6 separate regions of the Homo sapiens genome follow, and all the other regions are linked to region 4. Evidence: promoter capture Hi-C in human tissues and cell types (Jung and others, 2019). All regions are on one chromosome and are shown on one strand. The core of a region is centred on a gene start or on the middle of the fragment in contact, and the rest is flanking DNA. Distances in the headings are between cores, read along the strand shown. Region 1 overlaps ARHGAP39 (Rho GTPase activating protein 39). Region 2 overlaps ZNF251 (zinc finger protein 251). Region 3 holds the start of ZNF251 (zinc finger protein 251). Region 4 holds the start of BOP1 (BOP1 ribosomal biogenesis factor). Region 5 holds the start of RPL8 (ribosomal protein L8). Region 6 holds the start of ARHGAP39 (Rho GTPase activating protein 39).

Region 1 (2,700 bases), core at 67-2,566, 320 kb after region 4:
TTTCATTATGTTGGCCAGGCTGGTCTTGAATTCCTGGCCTCATGATCCACCGCCTCAGCCTCCCAAAGTTGTTGGGATTACAGGCGTGAGCCACCGCGCCTGGCCATATTGTCCTTTTTATATATTCTCAAATGGGATTGGCTAAAATTTTGTTAAGAATTTTTACATCCATATTCATATTCATTTTTGCATCTATTTTCTTCTTGTAACATCTTTGGTTTTGCTATCAGAGTAATACCAGCATAACAAAATGAGAAGTATTCCCTCCTCTCAAATTCCTGGGCGAGTTTATATAGAATTGCTATTATTTCTTCCTTAAATGTGTGGCAGAGATTCCAGTGAAGCCAGATGGGCATGTAGTTTCTTTGTGGGAAGGTTTTCAATTACACATTGAATCTATTTAATAGATACAGAGCTGAGCAGGCTCTAAAAATTTCTTCTTACGTGAGTATGAATGGTTTGTCTTTCAAGGAACTTGCCCATTTCATATAAAATTAATCACATTTGTTGGCATAAGTTATTATACCATACTATTCCTTTATATCTTCTTAAGAGCAACAGACTCTGTAGCTATGCCACATCTTTCATTTTTGACATTGATATAAAAATGTCTTGCTTTTTTCACTTTTCTGGCTAGAAGCTTATCGATTTTACTGACTGCCTCAAAAAGACAGCTTAATCGTTTTTTTTCTATTTTTCTGTTTTCATTAATTTCCACTTTGATGTTTGTTTCCTTTCTTTTGCATCCTTTAGACTTAATTTGCTTTCCTTTTTCTAATTTCCTAAGCTAGAAGCAGAGTTCAGTGATTTGTACATTTAAAAAAAAAATTTAGGGCCGGGCGTGGTGGCCCACGCCTGTAATCCCAGCACTTTGGGAGGCCGAGGTGGGTGGATCACGAGATCAGGAAATTGAGACCATCCTGGCCAATACTGTGAAACCCCATCTCTACTAAAAATACAAAAAAGTTAGCCAGGCGTGGTGGCGGGCGCCTGTAGTCCCAGCAACTCGAAAGGCTGAGGCAGGGGAATGGCGTGAACCTGGGAGGCAGAGCTTGCAGTGAGCTGAGATCGTGCCACTGCACTCCAGCCTGGGCGACAGTGAGAGACTCCGTCTCAAAAAAAAAAAATTTTTTTTTAGGTATTTAGTATTATAAAATACCCCTCTGAGTACAGCTTTCATGATATCCGACAAGTTTTGATATGCTGTATTTTCATTTTCATCCCGTTCAAAGAGTTTTGAGATGGAGTCTCACTCTGTCACCCAGGCTGGAGTGCAGTGGTGGGATCTTGGCTTGCTGCAACCTCCACCTCCCAGGTTCAAGCGATTCTCCTGCCTCAACCTCCCCAGTAGCTGGGATTACAGGCATATGCCACCACACCTGGCTAATTTTTTTGTATTTTTAGTAGAGATGGGGTTTCACCATGTTAGCCAGGCTGGTCTCAAACTCCTGAGATCAAGGGATCCTCCCACCTTTGCCTCCCAAAGTGCTGGGATTACAGGCGTGAGCCATCACGCCCAGCCTCAGAAAGCTTTCTAACCTTTCTTTTGATTTCTTCTTTGACTAATGGAACATATACTCAGTAACTAATCATCTTCCAGATATTTTTTATTGGTTTCTAATTATGTTTTTCTCAGAGAACATAATTTATATGATTTGAATTTGTTCAAGTTTATTGATGCTTTTTATGGTCCCCTAAAATGGTCTATCCTGGTAAATGTCCCGTGTGCACTGGAAAAGAACGTGCTGCCGGGTGAAGTGCGTATAAAGCCAATCGGATCAGGCTGGTTGATGGTGCTGATACTAATTTCTGTTCTACTTGTTCTATCCATCACTGAGAAACAGGTCAGGAGAGTCCCAACTACAACTGTGGATTTGTCTACTTCTCTTTGCACTATCAGTTTTTGCTTCATGTATTTTATAGCTCTGTTATTAGGTGCATACACATTTACAGTGTCTTCTTGATGAATGAACTCTTTTATCATGAAGTATCTTTATCCTGGTTGTTTCCTTTGCTCTGAAATCAGTACATTTGATATTACAGTAACTCCGGATTGCTTTACATCAGAGTTAGAATTGTGTAACATTTATCCTTCTTTTACTTATAACCTATTTATTTATTTAAATTTAAAGAGGGTGGCAAGGCACAGTAGCTCATGTCTACAATCCCAGCACTTTGGGAGGCTGAAGCAGGAGGATCCCTTGAGGCCAGGAGTTCAAGACCAGCCTGGGCAACATAGCGAGACCCTGTCTCTATAAAAAAATTAGCCAGACATGGTGGGGTGCACTTGTATTCCCAGCTACTCGGGAAGACGAGGCAGGAGAATCGCCTGAATCTGGGAGGTGGAGGTTGCAGTGGGCCGAGATTGCACCATTGTACTCCAACCTGGGTGACAAGAGCAAAACTCCATGTAAAAAAAAAAAAAAAAAAGGAGGATGAGGCCAGAGGATTCCTTGAACCCAAGAGGTCAAAGTTGCAGTGAGCCACGGCTGCACCACTGCACTCCAGACAGGGCAACAGAGTGAAGTGAGCCACGGCTGCGCCGCTGCACTCCAGCCAGGGCGACAGAGTGAGGTGAGCCACGGCTGCGCCGCTGCACTCCAGCCAGGGCGACAGAGTGAGGTGAGCCACGGCTGCGCCGCTGCACACCAGCCAGGGCGACAGAGTGAGGTGAGCCACGGCTGCGCCGCTGCACTCCAG
Region 2 (2,700 bases), core at 69-2,568, 430 kb after region 4:
GAGCTCTGACTGAAGGCCTTCCCACACTGATTGCATTTATGGGGCTTCTCTCCAGTGTGAATTCTCTCATGCTGAATAAGGCTGGAGCTTCGACTGAAGGCCTTCCCACAGTGACTGCATTCATGCGGCTTCTCTCCAGTGTGAATTCTCTGATGCTGAGTTAACTGGGGGCTCTGGCTAAAGCCTCTTCCACATTCATTACACTTGTAGGGTTTCTCTCCTGTGTGAATGATCCGATGTTGAATAAGAGTTGAGCTTCGACTGAAAGCCTTCCCACACTCACCACAGCCAAAGGGTTTTTCTCCAGTGTGAATTCTCCGATGAAGACGGAGGTGAGAATTGAGTCCAAAAGTTTTCCCACATTCATCACATTTAAATGGTTTATTTCCAGTGTGAATGTGATGGTGCAGAACAAGATTTGAGCTGTGAGTAAAGGCTCGCCCACACCGGCCACATTCGTACGGCTTCTCCCCAGTGTGACTTCTCTGGTGTCTACTTAGGTCTGAATTATATTTGAAGGTTTTGCTGCATATATCACATTTAAAGACCCTCTCTCCTGTTTTATTTCTTTGAAGTCTAACAACATTTTGGTCCAGATTCAAGTTTCTATCAAATGCACTACACTCTTGGGTTCTTTCTCCCAAAGATCTTTCCCTGCCCACGGTAGCTTCTGTTAAAACTCTCTTGTGAATATTGGGTTTGTTCAAACTCTGCCCGGCAGAATTTCCCACGCGCTCTTTGAGTTTGCCCTCACGGCCCCATGCTTCCCGAAACTCAGCGGCCTGTGCATTATCCCTTAAGAGTCTTCTTGATACAAATTCTGGGGTTTTTACTTCTTCGGAAAATTTTTGGTTTAAAATAGATAGTTCCTTCTTGGTCCCAACCTCAGAATCTGTTAAAGAAAAATATAAATGAGTTACTAGAGAAAACCTTCCATCAGGCATAATGTCCATAATGTGGTAGAAGCTCCTATAAACCATCATGCAGAAGGCAGATGCTCCAATAGGAAAAGATGTGAAAGGCAGAATTCAGAAGTAAAGATGGGATGGCCAATCAACAGGATAAAAATATTCAAGTTCATTAGTTATCAAAGTAGTCAAATCAAAACAAATTACGATTTTTCACCTATCAAATTGGCAAATTATTCAACAAATATTTAGAAGGCCAGGCGTGTTCTAGGTAAGGAATATACAGGAAGGTAAATATAGTCTCTGATCTCATGAAGCTTATGTTCTACTCAATTAGATAGCAAGTAAGTTCTTAAAAATAATGATACACCATGTGACAGAAACTGTGTAAATGTGTTATTGGCCCCAACCTAGTCTACATGGTCAGAGAAAATGCCAGGAGTGAGATTCAAGCTGAAACCTGACAAAAGAAGTAAGTTAGCAGTGACAGACAGGAAGGCCTGGGCCTGGCTGTGATGCACAAAAATATCCACCGAGTTCCTGATGTAAAGAATCTGGGCCAGGGCCAGGCGCGGTGGCTCACGCCCGTAATCCCAGCACTTTGGGAGGCCGAGGTGGGCGGATCACGAGGTCAGGAGATCGAGACCATCCTGGGTAACACGGTGAAACCCCGTCTCTACTAAAAATACAAAAAAATTAGCCAGTCGAGGTGGCAGGCGCCCGTAGTCCCAGCTACTCAGGAGGCTGAGGCAGGAGAATGGCGTGAACCCAGGAGGCGGAGCGAACCCGGGAGGCAGAGCTTGCAGTGAGCTGAGATCGCGCCACTGCACTCCAGCCCGGGCAACAGAGCAAGACTCCGTCTCAAAAAAAAAAAAAAAAAAAAAAAAAGAATTAAAGCAACAATCATGCCGTGTACTGTTGGTGGGACTGTAAATAAATGACCTTTTTTTGAGATAGTGTCTTGCTCTGTTTCCCAGGCTGGAGTGCCACGGTGCAACCACAGTTCACAGCAGCCTTGACCTCTCAGGCTCAAGCAATCTTCCTGCCTCAGCCTCCCAAGTAGCTGGGACTACAGGTGCAGGCCACTGTGCCTAGCCAAAATATAACTTTTTTAAAAAGCTGACAATATGTAGCCAAAAAATTGATATCTCACACACCCTTTGTCCCCCAAACTACTCCCCTAGGATCCATCCTAAGTGGACTGCCATATGTACGTTGAAATGACTACAATGATGCTCGCTGCATTTTGTAATTGGGGGGAAACAAGGAAGAACCCAAATGTCCAAAAACGGGGCTGTTTAAACCCAGTAAAAACTATTCACATAATGGAATACAATTCTACCATTATTATAATAGAAAGATATATAATTAAATGAAAAGCTCATATTACAAAGAGAAGAATCAGGTTCTAAAATTATATGCACAGCATAAACCAACTTTTATTGAACATAGATATATATGTAAGATAGTTGCTATTTCTTCCTTAACTGTTTAGTACAAGTCGGTGAAGCCATCTGGGCTTGGCATTTTTTCTGAGGAAGGGTTTTAAATTATGAGTCAATTTATTTAGCACTCAAACAATTATGTATCCACCACCACCTTTTTTCTTTCTTTCTTGTTTTTTTTTTCTTTGAGACAGAGTTTCACTCTTGTTGCCCAGACTGGAGTGCAATGGCACGATCTCGGCTCACCACAACCTCCACCTCCTGGGTTCAAGCGATTCTCCTGCCTCAGCCTCCCGAGTAGCTGCGACTACAGATGCTCACCACTATGCTCGGCTAATTTTTTGTAA
Region 3 (2,700 bases), core at 86-2,585, 460 kb after region 4:
AGAGGCCACGTTCCCATAGTTCTCCAGCATCACATCCCGGTAGAGCGCCCGCTGCTGGGGGCCCAGCTGCCGCCCCTCCGCCTGAGAGAAGTACACGGCCACATCCTGGAAGGTCAGCGGCATCTCCTGCAACAAAACATCGCCGCTGCCCAGGCCATGCCCACGGGGCAGCAGCCTGCACTAAAAGGGCCCTGACCTGGTGGGGCCCCACTACCCAGGGCCCTGCTGTGGTCAGTATGAACTGTGTATCAGCAGGTCCCTGATGGGGCAGCTGAGAGCGCTGAGGACCAGCCAACTTCAGCTACACGGGGACCCAGCTGAGCTCAGAGCCCCTCTCCCTGCAGGAGGGCGAGTCTACCTCTCAGAACCCTTTCCTCACGGTTGCTATGAGCCCCTGGCTGGCCTTACCAGTTGCCGGGCTCACGGCTCCAGAGGAGAGTAGCTTCTGACTGGGATGGGGATGAAGATGAAGAGGTGGGCAGGAAGGAGGGTTAACTCACCTGGTGCCCTGGAAGCTGGAATGTGGCTGCCATTCTGTGTGCATGGGCTGCTGTGGTTTCCAAGAGAAGACAGGAGACTGCCCTGGCCTGAAGTCTCCCCGAACTTACCTTCAGTGGGGAGAACTCAGGCTCAGCCCCATTCAACCAGGGGTGTGGAAGGATGGCCAGGAGGCAGAAGCTGATTGCTGCTGTGGCCTCCTGGGTCGCGGGAGGCAGGTCACTATGCAGCACGGGCCGACGTGCCCTACTGCTCAGTGACTCCTGAAATCCCAGAACGGCCAGAGCCAGAGCCCGGGGGGATCCAGGGACGCCCGGCTAAGGGGTGAAAGCTGGCAGTTCCCGTGGTCCAGACCTGCTGAAGGCCCTGGAAATGGGGTGCAGGGCCGTTCTACCTGCCTGGCCAACCTGGGGCAAAGAGCCACGTGAGGGTGCAGCCTCACCAAGGCTGAGGACGTGAGAAGGAGGCCGCGGGGATGCTGCCGAAGGCCCCAGGCTCCGGGGAGAGGCCGGAAGCCAGCTGTGGTCCTCAGTCCAGCCTTCTAGGGCCGCGCCGCGGTCGCCTCCTCCCGGCCTCTGCAGCCCGTCGGTGGCTCCCGCGGCACCCAGAACAGGCTCCTCCTGGACTGGCCGCCGCCTCCCCGCGCCCTCCCCGCGCCCTCCCCGCCTGCCTGCCCGCTTGGCGCTCCTTCCTGGTCCGACACTGCCCCACCTGTTTGCTCGACCCGGGGAAGCCACCGAGGAAGCGCCGAGGAGCTGCGCAGTCGCACCGAGCCCGGAACGGACCCTCCCACAGAACCGGGTCCAGAGCCGGGGAGGGGGCGGGCTAGGATGAAGAGGGCGGGCCGGGCCGAGCTGCGCACACGCAGGCTTCCCCGCCCCCTGCGGGGCCTCAGTACGCCTCCGAGAACGCCGGGAACCGGAAGCCAGCCGCGGTTCCGCCCGGATTCTTCCGGGGCCGCTCTGGGATGACTGGAGGCCTGCGCCGTCTATGGTCGGGGAGGGGGAGAGCCCACGGCAGCTGAGCGGAGGGTCTGGCGCGGTGACGCTGCGCATCCGGGCCGCGCCGCGCTCGCCCCGACCCTAAACCCTCACCTGAACCCTAACCCCGCTGGGCTCCCGGCTCCCCCGTCGGTCACCATACATCGTGTGTCCCGATTCACCATAACCACCAGAAAGTCGCTTATGAAGATGTTACAATTATCGGGGCTCAGAACACAACGCCCCAAAATGAAGGCCTGGGAGGCAGTTTCCCTCTGACCTTCCCAGGCCTCCAGTCTCAGTTCTTTTCTCCCGCGAGGCTCCTCACAGAGTGAATCCCTTTTACCCAAGGCGAGTCCCAGAGGCCAGACCCCCAAAGCCAGCCACAAAACCTAAAAACACGACTCTGATGTTCCCCCCGCTTTTCTGTGTGAAAACTGGCGGTAAAGGCCGGGCGTGGTGGCGGGCGTCTGTAGTCCCAGCTACTCCGGAGGCTGAGGCGGGAGAATCGCTTGAACCCGGGAGGCGGAGGTTGCAGTGAGCCGAGATCGCGCCACTGCACTCCAGCCTGGGTGACAGAGCGAGACTCCATCTCAAAAATAAATAATAAATAAATAAATAATCCATTTATTTGCCTTTTCTCCAAAAATCTGCCTTTTATGAGTTGGCTTTCAGTGAACCTTCAGAGGGCAAAGAGGAACTTTCCCTTTGGCCCCTACACAATAAAGCATGGTTGAAAAAATAGCACTTGATAAAGGTGAGGAGACCAGCTTAGGAGCAGGGGGAGAAGGAAAGGAAAGCCAAGCCATCTTGTCACCCAGAATATAGTGTAGGCCCTGTACACTGTGTTAGAATCAAGGCAGAAATTTTATATCTGAACTTGAGACGATCAACGAGGATGGAGAATGTCTAGAAGTCTAAAGCACCATGCAAAGTCACACATGATTAAGAAGATGCCTTACATTATTAATATCAGTGCTGGGGAGATTGTGGAGAATTACGCACTGCTATGCTTGAGGAAGCGTGTTTAGTACAATGTTGAAAATGAATTAAGCTGTACATAAAGAGCCTTAAACACTTCAATTAATCTAGGAATCTATCCTATGGAAATAACAAAAATGACAAAGAGAAGGGTGCCCATTCCAGAGTTTGTTGTGTGTGTGGTTTTTTTTAAATAATGGGGAGAATTTGGAAAATAGCTAGTTATTCATAGAAGGGGAAA
Region 4 (2,700 bases), core at 9-2,508:
GAAACCATCTCTACTAAAAATACAAAAATTAGCTGGTGGTGGCGGGCACCTCTAATCCCAGCTACTCAGGAGGCTGAGTTAGCCAGGAGGTGGAAGCTGCAGTGAGCCAAGACTGCACCACTGCACTCTAGCCTGGGCAACAGAGCCAGGCTCTGTCTCAAAAAAAAAAAAAAGAAAAAAGAAAGAAAAGGAAAAGAAAAGAAAAAGGAAGCAGTTGAATGCAGAATTCTAGATTTTACTGTTTTCCTAATAGTTTACAAGTCTCACTTAAGGTACGACCTGCATGTATTAGCTATTGCATACCGAGTGTTCACACAATGCCTCTCTCACACAGAGTCATGATGTGTCTTGGTATTCAGTCGGCTACACAATCACAATAACTAGTGGAAATGGCATCCGTGGCCTGGGCGCAAACAACTGGCTCCTGAGGACCGTTTAGTCCAAGGGTGGAAGTCGCAGAACCTGGCGCCTAGAGTGGCCTGCGGGCCATTCAGCCCATGGGAGCCAGGATGAGTTGAATTCGCTTCACAAAGCAATGGGGCAGTTTCAACAACCCAGCGCGGCCGCGGCCGAGGGGGCTGTGAGGGGCTGGCTGTCCATCCCCTCCACCACCCAATTTGATGATCCCCACAACCAAGACAGGGCTGAGCTAGCAGAGAGCAACAGTGAGTTCTAATACAGCAAATGCAGCAGACACTGGGTTCTATTCAGGTTTTCTTATTCTCATGTCTATCCCATGAGCATAAAAACGCAATTAACTAGCGTATACGTAGGTTAAGCATTTACTGGGAGCGCAAGCCGAGCCCTTTTATTGGCAGGATGCACAAATGGAACGGCTGGAGAGGCTGCTGCAAGGGGCGCCCCGTCCCCACTCCCCGCTCCCCCGTTTCTTTGCTTCCCGGACGCCGTCCTTTACCCCGCAGTCCGCTCTGCCTGAGACCCCCCGATAGAGGAGCTGCACCCACGCCCAAGACCGATTCACTGGGCGCGGGCGCCCAGGTGACAGAAGCCGGGCCCACCCGCCCCAGCGCGGCCACGTGCCCGCCGGGCCCTCTAGGGACGCGCCCCGCCGCCCCGCATCGCCACAGTCACCTCCGGCTCGGGCTCAGGCTCCAGTTCGGGCTCAGACCGCCGCTTCTCCGGCCGCACGCTCGGCGCCGCCGTGCGCCCCGCACCCCGCGAACCCGCCATGCCCCACCGCGCGCCGGCCGCCACCCGCACAGCCGCTTCCGACAGCGACCGGGCCGCGTGCGCAGGAGGACGCGCCCCGCCCAGCCCGGCCCCGATTGGCGGGTGGAGGGAAGGGGGTGGGACCAACACGCGCAGGCGCGCGGCTGGGCCGGGGACCAGGGCGGGGTCGGGGCCTGCGTGCTCGCGCCGGGGGTGACGCGGGAGGGCGGCAGCGGCGGCGGCGGGAGCGCGCCCGTTGCAAGATGGCGGCGGCCATGCTGGGCCCCGGGGCTGTGTGTGCGCAGCGGGCGGCGGCGCGGCCCGGAAGGCTGGCGCGGCGACGGCGTTAGCCCGGCCCTCGGCCCCTCTTTGCGGCCGCTCCCTCCGCCTATTCCCTCCTTGCTCGAGATGGATCTGCCCGTGGGCCCCGGCGCGGCGGGGCCCAGCAACGTCCCGGCCTTCCTGACCAAGCTGTGGACCCTCGTGAGCGACCCGGACACCGACGCGCTCATCTGCTGGAGCCCGGTGAGGGCAGCGCGCGGGCGCGGGGCCCGTGGGGACCGGGAGGGAGCAGGGCCGCGGCGGACGGCGCGGGAGGGCTGCGGGGAGGGGCCCTGCCGCACTTCAGCTTACGCGCGGTGAGCCTGCCCTGCCCCCGCCAGAGAAGGGCGGCGGGTCCCGAGCCTGCTCAGACCCAGAGCCTTAAGTTGGGAAAGCGGCTACGAGACCCACACTCGGTTCAACCCCTGCCCCAGCGAAGTTTCCCTGGGATGGGGAGAATGGGGCGTCTCTTGTATTGGGCTTCTGCTAACTGTTGGGCGGTTGCGGAAGTGTCCGCGCTTAGGGCAAGCACCCGGCTTCGCCAGCGGACGCTATGCCCCAGAGGACATCGGCGTCCCCAGGGGACAGCCTACGGGGTGCTGGGTCGGCAACTATTAGGAGAAAGTCAGGACTTGGCACGTGAAGTGGAGGGCGTTGCTGTAGTGGAACAGGAAAGGCAGTGGAAACAGTAAGACGTCATGAAGCTTCAGGTTGATCTCAAGCCCGTTTCCGAATCCCAAATCTGGGTTTCCCAAGAGGAGTTTTGTTTTTCATTCCTTATGGGGCATCTTTATTCGTGTTTCTGTCTTCAGTTGCCTGGCAGCAGGCTTGTTTACATGGTCCGACCCTGCAAGACCGGACAGCTCCGGTTTGCAGAAGTAAATCAGTGATTGTCTGGAGTTGGAGATCAGAATCTGCTGTTCACATCCCGGCTGTGACGTCGTGTCCGGTGAGGGGCAGAGCCACCGCCTGCGGCTGGCAAGTGATGACCTGAAGAAGGGCCACACTGGCCGAGTGGGGTGACTCTTGCTTGTAATCCCAGCACTTTGGGAGGCGGAGGCGGGTGGATCACTTGAGGCCAGGAGTTCGAGACCAGCCCGGACAATATGGCAAAACCCCAGCTCTACTAAAAATACAAAAAATTTGCCGGGCGTGGTGGTGCTTGCCTGTGGTCTTAGCTACTTGGGAGGCTGAGATAGGAGGACTCCC
Region 5 (2,700 bases), core at 159-2,658, 500 kb after region 4:
TGTTAACCAACTGCATGCAAGTGCAGCAATCAGGAAGCCCACGGTAGAATCCAAGACCCTGGTGACTTCGTCCCAATCTCATTTAACGCCTCAACAGCAGTAAAGCAGGTACTGTTGTGCCTGTTGTACAGTGATGACAACTGAGACTACAGGATGAGCTCAAACTTACAGAACCCAAGTTTTAGAACAACAGGTAATCGAATTCCAGGGACCAAGTCTAGCCACTGGCTGTCCACCGGCACTCACAGCATGTTCACCCACAGCCCTCAGCATTCAACTGCTGCCTGATACTCACCAACCACAGCTCTGTTGGCTGAGGAGATAACCTTCTTGGAGCCGGAGGGCAGCTTCACACGGGTCTTCTTGGTCTCAGGGTTGTGGGAGATAACGGTGGCATAGTTCCCTGATGCCCGGGCCAGCTTGCCACGGTCTCCAGGCTTCTCCTCCAGGCAGCACACGATTGTACCCTCAGGCATGGTGCCCACAGGGAGCACATTGCCAATGTTGAGCTGGGCTGCAAGGGGAAGCAGCATCAGGCCGTCAGCACAGTAAGAAACAATGCGAACCCCCTCGCTCTAGGCAACCCGCGAAGTTGCGAGCACAGCATTCAACATCCAGCCTCCCGGTACAACTCTCTCGGCACCCACCGGTGGCCACTGGTCTGGCCACGCGGATGTCCCCACCTGAAGCTTCTGCCTGCGAGGTTCCCATATCGGCTTAGGACGTTAACTCCTCAGGCAACACCCAGACCCCTCCCCACCCCGACCTTCCTTCCCCGCCGCGATGCTAACCCTTCTTGCCGCAATACACAAACTGGCCCGTGTGAATGCCCTCGGCGGCAATGAACAGCTCCGTCCGCTTCTTAAACCGATACGGATCCCGGAAGACCACCTTGGCGAGGGGCGCGCCGCGGCCCGGGTCGTGGATGATGTCCTGTGGGCAGAGGCGGCGTGAGTGCGGCGTTCCGGCCGGGCGTCCCTTCCCCTCCCGCCCCGGCCAGCGTTCCGCACCTTGACGATGCCCTTGATGTAGCCGTGCCGCTCAGCGAAATCCACGGCGCGCAGGCGCGCAGCGCCTTTACGGTGCTTCACGTGCGCGCGGAACACAGACCCGGCGCCCTTCCTCTGTCCACGGATCACACGGCCCATGGCGACGGGTCCTGGGGGCGACTCACGATTAGCGCGGCCGGGCGGCCCGGGTACCCCCGCCAGCCCGGCTTTCCGGGACCCCGCCCCCGAGGCCGCCGCGCCCACCACTCCCTACCCTCTCCGCGGGCGCCCGCACCGGCATCCTCTCAGGAGGGCCGGTCCGGGTCTCAGCGCGCCTCACGGAAGAGGATGGCGGCGGATACTGCCCATGCCGCAAGGCCGCAAGGATGACCTACCTGTTCACCAGCGCGGCCGAAAGAGGAAACACGGCGTCAGCGAGCGGCCTTATCTTCCGGGGCGGGGCCCAGGGCCGCGACACCTTCCGGGCGCGCCACGGCCAGCCTAGCGCGGTGCACGCCGGGGCTTGTAGTCACCAGCGGCCGCCGGCCCCGCCTACTTCTCCTCCTCCAGGGCCCCCGCGCAGGCGCACCAGGAGACGCGGCTGAAGGTGTCCTGGTGTGCGTGGGCTCGGAAGGAGGGTGCAGGAGTGCTCGGCTTTCACCGGGGTCTCCGGGAGGGCAGGTGTTTTCTGAGTGGCCGAGGAGGCGCCAAGTGGTTGAGTGACCTGTCCAGGGTGTCACAGAGCGACCCACTCCGGGCCACGGGGTCTGGGGCTCCCGGCTTGCCTGGTGAGGGGCTTCCGTGTAGGCCGAGGGGGTTCTCGCTGGTGCAGAGCAGGAGATGGGCAGGGGAGACGCGTGGACCCACTCGTGGAACGTCATGGTTTGCAGGTGGCAAATGTCCGTCTCCCTGATGAACGGGCGCTTCTGGACGCGGGGACCTTATCCACTGTAGGCCCTTGGAGAGGTCGGGCGTCGAGGAGAGGAGCCCCGGGATCCTTGCCGAGGGTGAGGGCCGGCCGGCCCAGGAAGTGGGGAGGGCCAAGCTGGAGGGTCCCGGGTCGAGGAAGAAGGAGCGGGGATGGGCTGGGTCACATGCTGCGGAGTGGACGAATAATGGGAGACTGGACCGTACCCTGACCAGAACCCTGTGCGGGAGAGGTGGGGAAGGAGCAAGAAATGGAGGCTGGGAGGGGCTGTGGGGGCCTGAGCTGGAAAGAGTCAGCCCGACTGGGGGTGTCCTGCGGTACGTGCTGTGGAGAGGGGCTTCGCGGAATCGGGCCCCTAACGGGTGGGACCCCGAGGCCGCGGGTGGGGGATGGTGGGGAAGAGGTTTTCCAGGAGAGAGTCCCTGGCTGAGTGAGCACTGTCGAGCACACGCGAGGCCGTGGGTGGGGAGGCAGCAAGGAGGTGAAGGCGGGGGTCCCAGTGGGCGGGAGAGGCTTGCTGTCGGTACTGGGAGGTGGGGTGTTTCCTAGACCCTGCAGGGGCTGAGGCAGGGTTGACATCGTGAGAAGGAGACAGGAGAGGGTGGAAGGGTGTCCTGTGCCCGCTGTTGCTCACAGGGGAGAGGAGGGGCTGCTGCAGGAGGCCCTCCCCTAGGGTCGGCAGGGGGATGGAGGAGGAGCTGCCCGGTGGGGACTCAGGAAGCAGCACAGCCCACAGCTAGGGCCAGGGGCTGAGGGGCAGGACTGGACCCTGGGGGCAGGGTG
Region 6 (2,700 bases), core at 43-2,542, 390 kb after region 4:
CTGCGCAGCGCCCACAGCAGCTGCTGGTGGGAAGCGGCTCGGAACACACCCACAGCTGCCAAGGAGCCGGCTGCACGTTTTAAAATAAAAAACGTCCTGGGCCCCAAAATGCACAGCCCGCCTCTCTCGCCGCCCTGGGCACGGAACGCCGCCTCCACCCACAGCACTCCAGCAACTGGGAAGCAACCGGGAAGCAACCGAGGGAATTCCAGCTCGGGGGGCAACCGGGAGGGGAAGGCTCCGAGCGCCGGAGCCCCAGCCCGCGCCTGCCGCAGAGGCGAGGCCGCAGAGCCCACCCGCAGGCGGCCATGACCCCACCTGGAGACGCCCATGTCCGCTCCCTGCGCCCCGGGGACAAAGCCCGAGGCTGCACCGCAGCGCACCGCAGCCCTGCACCCGGGCCGCCCTTCAGGACGCGGGCACCAGACCCGACCGGCGGGCATCCACCTTGTCCCCACTCCGACGGCGCCCGGGAATGCGGCCGGTGCCCCGAGCTCAGGCTGGGCACACGTGCACCCACACCCACCACGGGCGGGGTCCCCTCACACCCCCCTCGGGCAGGGGCACACTCACACCCATCTAGGGCCGGGCACACTCACACCTCCCTCGGGCAGGAGCACACTCACACCCCCCTGGGGCCGGACACACCCACACTCCCCTCGGGCCGGGCACACTCATACCCACCGTGGACAGGGGCACACTCACACTCACTCTGGACAGGGGCACACCCACACCCACATTGGGGCCGGGCACACTCACACCCACCTAGGGCAGGGACACAACTCACTCTGGACAGGGTACAGTCACACCCACTTCGGGCCGGGCACACGCGAACTCACCCACCCTCACACTCCCAGCCCGGCCCGTCGGCGCGCACCCGGGCCCCGCGCGGCCTCGGCCCCTCGAGCCTCCGCGCCCCCCGCCCGGCCGGGCCCCGCACACCCACGCCCCCTCCCTCCACGGCCCAGTCACAGCCCCTCCCGCCGCTGCAGTCGCCGCGGGCCTGGATTCCTTGCGCTGCCGGGCCTGGAGCCTCCGCCGAGGCTGGGCCAGGACCACGGGGACCGCAGCGCCGGCCCCTCCGCCATCTTCTTGGCCCGCGCCGCCCACCGCCCGTTGCCCGCGCTCTCACCGGCCGGCTGCGCGCGGGCCGCGCCGCCACAGTCCCTCATCCCGGCCCGCGCGACGCGCGTGAGCCAGCCGCCGCTCCCCGGCCTCTCTGCTGCTCCGCCGCTGCTGCCGCGGCAGCCCGTGCTGTCGGCGTCCTCCGCCGCCGCCGCCGGCCCAGTGCGCGGCGGCCGCGCGTCCTCCCGTCACCAAGCGCAACCCCCCGCCTCCGGCTCCGCCCCCGCGGCGGTCACTACCCGCCGCCAGGGGGCACTGCCTCGCGAGGCCGCATCACGCATGCGCTGGCGCGCGGCATGCCGGGAGCCGGAGTCCCGCGGAGGGCGCGCGCGGCATGCTGGGAGCCGCCTGGCCCCGCCCCGTCGCCGCGCCAGAGGCCTCCCGCGCGGACCTACCCTGTGAGTTAGCGGTGTCTTCCCGTCTCTTTCGGTGCAGAGCAGTTACCATCTGACACGTCTCGGTGTGGTTTGGTGTAATTTTGCCCTCTCAAACCACGTTGGGCTTCCCGAGTCTGAGATTTCACTTTTCTTCGACTCTAGAAATACAGCCATTCTTCTCAAAACGTGGGCTGCCCTGTTCCTCAGTCCTTCTTGTGGCGGGCTCGTGTCTCTTCACCTCCTGTTATTCTCACCTTTTTAGTCCTGTCACTTTTACTCGGTAATTCACTCAGCTGCAGCTCGACTAGTGCTCTATTCGGCGTTTTCTAATCTGCGTTCAGCCTGGTTTTCTAGATTCTCTTAGTGCCAGGTGCGTTTCTGGAAATTGAATCTGACTGGCATTTCTGGAGAAACGGAGGCTAAACAGCCTGAAGCTTCGATAGTAGAAGACAGGGGCGCACACCCTTCAGTCCTGGACATTCCCTGGGTCCTCAACTGTGAGAAGCCGCAAAGGGCTGAAAGGCCCCCGTCAAAAGTCATCCGTGGAGCTCCACCTCCTGCCCTGCAGCTCAGTCGCCTTGCAGGGACTCTCCCGCCTCAGGAGATCTCCCGTCGGGCTGTCTCGCCGCCCGCGCTTCCCTGTTGGGCCGTCGTCACACTTCACTCTTCACTCTTATACACAGGGCTCTGCTTTTTCGCCTCCCGCTCCCTCTCCACTGTATTCACTTAGAAAACCCAACTGGGCGAGCCCAACCCTTCTCCTCCATGACTGCTGAAGAAAATCACACATCCAGGCTGACTGCCTTCACCTTAAACTTGTGACAACACACTGGCGGCGAGCACTTCCCACCCCCGTGACCACACACTGGCGGCGACCATTTCCCACCCCTGTGACCACGCACTGGCGGCGAGCACTTCCCACCCCCGTGACCACACACTGGCGGCGACCATTTCCCACCCCCGTGACCACGCACTGGCGGCGAGCACTTCCCACCCCCGTGACCACGCACTGGCGGCGAGCACTTCCCACCCCGTGACCACACACTGGCGGCGACCATTTCCCACCCCCGTGACCACGCACTGGCGGCGAGCATTTCCCACCCCCGTGACCACACACTGGCGGCGAGCACTTCCCACCCCCGTGACCACACACTGGCGGCGACCATTTCCCACCCCCGTGACCACACACTGGCGGTGA

What was found. Contacts are between HindIII fragments. The study calls those that stand out against the background at their distance.
Region 1: a contact is called between a fragment that was not itself captured here and the fragment with the promoter of BOP1 in region 4, in 2 of the 25 tissues and cell types used here (dorsolateral prefrontal cortex and heart right ventricle).
Region 2: a contact is called between a fragment that was not itself captured here and the fragment with the promoter of BOP1 in region 4, in 1 of the 25 tissues and cell types used here (dorsolateral prefrontal cortex).
Region 3: the fragment with the promoter of ZNF251 here is called in contact with the fragment with the promoter of BOP1 in region 4 in 5 of the 25 tissues and cell types used here (dorsolateral prefrontal cortex, liver, lymphoblastoid cells and 2 more).
Region 5: a contact is called between the fragment with the promoter of RPL8 here and the fragment with the promoter of BOP1 in region 4, in 3 of the 25 tissues and cell types used here (lymphoblastoid cells, small bowel and spleen).
Region 6: the fragment with the promoter of ARHGAP39 here is called in contact with the fragment with the promoter of BOP1 in region 4 in 4 of the 25 tissues and cell types used here (dorsolateral prefrontal cortex, heart left ventricle, heart right ventricle and 1 more).

What each region holds. Positions count from the first base shown.
Region 1 is chr8:144,609,597-144,612,296 of GRCh38, forward strand. All of the region lies in intron 1 of ARHGAP39 (Rho GTPase activating protein 39), which reads right to left. Among named protein-coding and RNA genes, the nearest start is that of ARHGAP39, 75 kb to the right of the region's middle. The HindIII fragment of the contact is 3,122 bases long and covers 1-2,700 here.
Region 2 is chr8:144,722,491-144,725,190 of GRCh38, forward strand. It overlaps ZNF251 (zinc finger protein 251), which reads right to left. Exons shown (of 5, transcript NM_138367.2): 5 at 1-892. Among named protein-coding and RNA genes, the nearest start is that of ZNF251, 32 kb to the right of the region's middle. The HindIII fragment of the contact is 3,424 bases long and covers 1-2,700 here.
Region 3 is chr8:144,754,196-144,756,895 of GRCh38, forward strand. ZNF251 (zinc finger protein 251) reads right to left here and starts at 1,336. Exons shown (of 5, transcript NM_138367.2): 1 at 1,210-1,336; 2 at 501-608; 3 at 1-126. The coding sequence starts at 533. The region is part of intron 2 of LOC107986986 (a long non-coding RNA gene); the gene reads left to right. The HindIII fragment of the contact is 22,211 bases long and covers 1-2,700 here.
Region 4 is chr8:144,290,180-144,292,879 of GRCh38, forward strand. BOP1 (BOP1 ribosomal biogenesis factor) reads right to left here and starts at 1,259. Exons shown (of 16, transcript NM_015201.5): 1 at 1,093-1,259. The coding sequence starts at 1,191. It overlaps HSF1 (heat shock transcription factor 1), which reads left to right and starts at 1,425. Exons shown (of 13, transcript NM_005526.4): 1 at 1,425-1,695. The coding sequence starts at 1,579. RefSeq lists silencers at 1,003-1,502, 1,613-1,772 and enhancers at 1,904-2,560, 2,163-2,222. The HindIII fragment of the contact is 19,250 bases long and covers 1-2,700 here.
Region 5 is chr8:144,790,982-144,793,681 of GRCh38, forward strand. It overlaps RPL8 (ribosomal protein L8), which reads right to left and starts at 1,409. Exons shown (of 5, transcript NM_001317782.2): 1 at 1,011-1,409; 2 at 792-933; 3 at 296-514. The coding sequence starts at 1,148. MIR6850 (microRNA 6850) reads right to left here and starts at 1,010; the gene lies at 950-1,010. RefSeq lists enhancers at 1-88, 2,501-2,700 and a silencer at 1,111-1,330. The HindIII fragment of the contact is 17,129 bases long and covers 1-2,700 here.
Region 6 is chr8:144,684,554-144,687,253 of GRCh38, forward strand. ARHGAP39 (Rho GTPase activating protein 39) reads right to left here and starts at 1,293. Exons shown (of 12, transcript NM_025251.3): 1 at 1,133-1,293. RefSeq lists enhancers at 1-385, 999-1,610. The HindIII fragment of the contact is 13,771 bases long and covers 1-2,700 here.